Regions from separate parts of the Homo sapiens genome. Here region 2 is linked to region 1. Evidence: promoter capture Hi-C in 16 types of primary human blood cells and fetal thymus (Javierre and others, 2016). All regions are on one chromosome and are shown on one strand. Each heading gives the region's core, a stretch centred on a gene start or on the middle of the fragment in contact. The rest is flanking DNA. Distances are from core to core; before and after follow the strand shown. Region 1 holds the start of UBE2L6 (ubiquitin conjugating enzyme E2 L6). Region 2 overlaps ZDHHC5 (zDHHC palmitoyltransferase 5).

Region 1 (2,512 bases), core at 5-2,504:
GCGCGCCTGTAAATCTCAGCTACTCAGGAGGCTGAGGCACGAGAACAGCTTGAACCGGGAGGCGGAGGTTGCAGTGAGCCGATATCGCCACTGAACTCCAGTCAGGGCGACAGTGAAACTCTGTCAGAAAAACAAGAAACAAAAAAACTGTGAGGTACTGAGATCACAAACTGGTGCTCAAAATATACTGATTTCCTTTCTCGTCTGGACTAAACGGGGGTAGGGAAGGGTGAGAAGGAGGGGATCGGCCCTCCCAACAAGTCTCATCTTCCCCAGATGCTGCTTGGTGCTCAGGGGCTGCAAGTACTCTGTCCTTGCACAGAGGGTTGGGGACTCCAGCTGTGCATGGGGGCACACATTAGGCCCACAGCTTGTAATGGACCAGTAGTAAAGTAAGGGAGGGGAAGCAGACTCTCTCTTGGAAAGGAGGCTCCTGAGTCCTTCTTGGGGCTTCCCCCACCAACTGTTTCCCAAACCAGCATACAGTAGGCACTTAGTAAATACTAAACCTAGTAAAGGACTGAATGATGGTAGACCGAACCCCCAAAGCAAAAGAGAAAGGGTCCAACAGCGCCTCCTTGCGGTGCTCTGCCCCAAGCCACGGGGAGAAACGTTGCAGCCCGCGCCGAACGCCGGGCAGCACAAAGGATCCCCGACTGCCGGGGAGCGGTGCTCGGAGGGCACAGGTCTACGCCATCCCCCACGCAGTTTCGGAGATGGAGCGCTGGGCCCATGGAGGGAAGGCGGCAGGCTCGGCGGCTCCGGCAGCTTGCTGGGGCAGGGGCTCAAGGCGGCAGTCCGATAGTGGAGGCCGCTGAGAACTGTCACGGAGCTGCGTCTGTACAGCGAGCATCCCTTATTTATTCAGGGCGAGTGTGTATTTGGGGCGGCGTGCAGGGGGCTGACAAAGACCGGAGAGCTCCCGGTGCGGCCGCCGGCGGAGCGAAGACTGGAACCCGTATGAGCGCCCCCCAGCGCCCCTGAGCGCTCGCCGCCGGTGCACGGCGCACCCCGCGGGAGGCAGGGATCAGCAAAGCCGTGCGCCCCGAGGCCCGCCCCCGTCTCCGCACAAAGACCGTGAGTCCCGGGTCCGAGCCTTCCGCGCGGGGATCGGGCGGTTGTCCGGCGGGTCGTCCTTCGACGGCCTCCTGGCCTCGCCGGAGCGGGTGCGGGGAGGCCCACGCAGCGACGGCTGGAGGAGGGGTGGGCGGGGCTGCCGGGGGTGGGGTCCCCGGGGCGGGGCGGGGCGCGCTGTGTCGCGGGTCGGAGCTCGGTCCTGCTGGAGGCCACGGGTGCCACACACTCGGTCCCGACATGATGGCGAGCATGCGAGTGGTGAAGGTAACCGCGTATAGGATGACCCCTTTCTCTTGGCTCCCCTCGCCTCCCGCATTCCCTCCTCCCTCCATCCCCTCCGCGGCTCTCCGAGCACATTTATTTATTTGTCTGGGCACCAGGGCTGGCTGAATCCCTGTCCTCCCCGCCCTCTACTCAGAGGAGGACTGGCCTGCAAGAGTGGCCAGAGCTGGGGTTTTGGGGGTTTGGAGGCCTCTGCTTGAGCCGTTCGCGTGGTGAAGATGAGCCGGCTCCCCCAAAACTGGTTTCAATTTCGCTTTTCCTGCCTGAAACTTGTGATAACAACTGGGTGCATCTCCAGTGCAGGAAAAGTCCTTGGCATCTTGGTGCCAGGCATTCTGCTACTGCTGGTGGTGGGTTATGAACACAGATGACCAGGATGAAGTCCTTGCCTTGGAATAAGCCCATAGCCCATCCCATAATTTGATGCCTGTATTACTAGAGTCCTGAGAAACACGGAATGCTGATTAGAATTTGGGACAAAGTTCCCTGAGTATTCTCTGGAGGAAAAGATGCGGAGGTGGACCTGGAAGGCCTCCTGGAGTAGGTGGCTTGCGTTCGTGAGTTCTACAAGTGTTGAATGCCTACATGTGCTGGCCCTGTTCTAGGAGGGGGGGGGGGGCGGGCAGAGATGAACACAAATCCGGCCCTTGTTGAATTTTGTTCCTATCAGGGACACAATTTGAAATAAGATCTGGAAGGATGGGGAGGGGGCAGTTTCCTCCAGAAGGTGGGAAAACCCAGGGTGTTTGGAGATGGATTAGGGAGGAAGGTGATCCTGGTGAAGTGAGTCTGGCACCCCAAGTCTTTCAGAAGTGCCCCTTCCAGTCTGCAGGGTGGAGGGGCAGGCTCTAGGAAGAGGGTGCCTGCTACCCTCAGCCTCTGAGAAGAAAATGGCCTCAGACTGGGATGCCCAGAGCAGGCTTGGCCTAGATACTAAATCTGGAGGTTGGCAGCAAAATGAGGCAGAGGGTCTTTCCAGCCAAGTGGAAGAGAGATGGGAGCCAGAATTTATTGCATTGGAACCATTACATGCCAAACGGTTTACATGGTTATTTCATCTAATTCGCACAGCAGTTCTGTGAGATAAGTAATATATACCCGCATTTTACAAATGAGGAAATTGAGGCACAGAGGAAATAACTTGCTTGTCCAG
Region 2 (2,512 bases), core at 8-2,507, 130 kb before region 1:
TGTCACTGATAACTTCCCACCAGAGATCGTTCACCCTGTCTCAACCAGACAAAATAACACAAGTCAGGGGGCGCTGGTTAGATCAGGATTTCTTTTTATTCCTCGTTGGTTTAAAATGGCTAATCAGAATAAAAAATAAAAGGGCCTCTTTGTGGAGGCTGGGATCTCCCCTATTTAGAGGTTAGAACCCAGGTATCCCCTCTACCCAGCACCATAGTGAGGTGGGCTGAGGGGTAACCCCCAAGGGACAATCGGAGGGGCCTAGGCCTGCCACTCCTTCTCTCTATCCCCCGTTTTTGGCATGTGATGAAAAATATTGCTTTTTGGATTCTTCTCTCCTGGCCTTGGATTTTAAAATCAAGTTAACTGTGTAAGCTAGGGGAGGCTCCAAGGGGCCAGTAGGAGCACACTCTAATCCCTCTCCCCCAAGGAGGGGATTATCCAATATTGTTTGAGCTAGGCCAAGTTATTTTCCTGATCTCCCACCACCACCAGTGTCTTGAAGTTTTGACCCCTTTCCTAGGGAAACTAAATGCCAATGAGCCTAGAAAACTAATTCTCCTCTCCAAGTCCTTCCCTCTTGTGACCAAAATTCCAGACTCACCTCTCCCCAGGCTTCTTCCTAATCACACTTAGCACCAGCAGAGGATGCTATTTCCGTAGTTAGTAACTGGGACAAATGAGAGGGAACCACAGGAAAAAGACTGACGTCTCCCCTCTTTTCCTGCTGGTCTGAGGAATGGGAAGAGTAAGATCCCCCTCCGTATATGTATCCCTCCCTCATTTTCCCATCCCAGGATAGATATATAATTTCTTTGATATTTATAATATATATATATATATATTATATGTACACACACACCTGGTAACGCAGAAGAGGAAAAAAATAGAATCCGTAACAATAATAAAAAAAATTATTTCTGGTTTAAAAATGATCTGGTTCCCTCCAGGGCGAGCAATTGCACAAATGTCCACTGAGTCTGGTCCAGGGATCAAGGAAGGGAAGGTCTTAAAAGATAAAAGGGGGGGTTGCTACCCCAGTCTCAGGGCCCCAACTCTCCGACTCCCCAAGCCTACTGCATTTTAGAAAACACTCCTCATCCTCTTGGAATCGGTGGTTTAAAAAATGTCCATGCACGGGAGGGGAGCCCCTTGAGGGAAGGAAGGTGGCCACCTGGGGCCCTTTGGTGTAGGCGCAGAGGCGTTGGGGAGGGGAGGTGCCGAAGGCTCACACCGAAATCTCATAGGTGGTACCACCAACCCCTGACACCTTCTTGACTCCTCCCCTCGTGGGGCTACTGAGAGGTGGCTGGCCTGGGCCAGGGGAGGCTGAGCCTAAGCTCTTGGGCTGCCCGTTGGATTTGCTGTAGGTGGTCTTCAGCTGTACTTCATCTCTGGAAAGAAGAGACAAGACGTAGGTGTCAGGAAATGGGACAGAAAACATTGGAAAGGGAGACAGTTTCAAAGGTTCAGAGAAAAAAATGATGTTCTTTTCTATATCCATACTTTCTTACCCAAACATTCCCCTTTATTGCCCTGCTTAAAATAAGCCTGATTCCCAATCTCTCCTATGTACTACTACTCTCTAGTAACAGCTATCACATGTACTTACTCCCAAGCAAATACTTTTAGGAAGATAGCATTATGGAAAAAGTATTAATCTTCAGTCTCTTAACAGGAATTGCCCATGAAGGCAGGTAGAGTCAAAGTGAAAATAAAGAGCTACCAGGATACCCCTGGGTCCACCTACATTAGGATGTACAACAGAAGCCCTGATAGCTTTTGCAGAGCAGTATGCTAATTTGAAATTGGCTAAGGGTCAGGATAGTACTAATACTTACTTGGGTGTCAGTAATGGCTGCAAGGCCACTTCTTCTGTCTCAGAGACACCAGGTTGGGCTTTTTGGCTGCTGTAAGACATCGATCGGCCCAGGTATGGGGCTGTTGGGCCTGGTTCAGGGGACCCTACTCCCCGGCCCCTTAGCCCATCTGGCTTGCCAAAACGGGGGACAGCTGGGCGTCCCAGTGGAGTCTTGCCCAAAGGTGATCTCTTTGAATCATCTGAGGAGGAACTAGTACGAGGGGCATGGCCCGAGCCTGGTGTTGACTGAATGCCTGAGTCCCCCAAGCCTGGTTCTTCCTCACGGCCCGGGAGTGGGGGTGACTGGCGCAGCAACTTCTCTCGTTCCTGGAGAGAGGCCACAATGTGGCGCGACAGATTGTCGTAACGGACTGGTGAGGGCTCTCGGTGTGTTGGGCCAGTTGGCACCAAACGTGGGTGCCTCTCAGCTTCCCGTTGCTGGGCCAGCCTGGCTGACAGGAAGGGAGAGGTATAGCCTAAAGGTGGGTCTGGCTCAGGCCCTGCCTGCACTGACTCAAAATCAGGGCTGTCTGAAGGTGTGAGCAAGCTGTCATAAGATAGGCTTCCATTGCGTGTCTGGTTGGCCAGGCTCTTATAGGAGGTGGAGGTGGTGCCCTCTGAACGAATGGATTGCAACTGGCCCAGCTCAAA

What was found. The method cuts DNA at HindIII sites, captures the fragments that hold promoters and counts their contacts. A CHiCAGO score of 5 or more calls a contact.
Region 2: a contact is called between a fragment that was not itself captured here and the fragment with the promoter of UBE2L6 in region 1, in 1 of 17 cell types (neutrophils). The highest score is 5.7, in neutrophils.

The regions. Positions count from the first base shown.
Region 1 is chr11:57,566,414-57,568,925 of GRCh38, reverse strand. UBE2L6 (ubiquitin conjugating enzyme E2 L6) reads left to right here and starts at 1,254. Exons shown (of 4, transcript NM_004223.5): 1 at 1,254-1,341. The coding sequence starts at 1,315. RefSeq lists a silencer at 891-1,250 and an enhancer at 2,504-2,512. The HindIII fragment of the contact is 19,025 bases long and covers 1-2,512 here.
Region 2 is chr11:57,698,748-57,701,259 of GRCh38, reverse strand. It overlaps ZDHHC5 (zDHHC palmitoyltransferase 5), which reads right to left. Exons shown (of 12, transcript NM_015457.3): 11 at 1,842-2,512; 12 at 78-1,394. The coding sequence ends at 1,229. Among named protein-coding and RNA genes, the nearest start is that of MED19, 12 kb to the left of the region's middle. The HindIII fragment of the contact is 3,103 bases long and covers 1-2,512 here.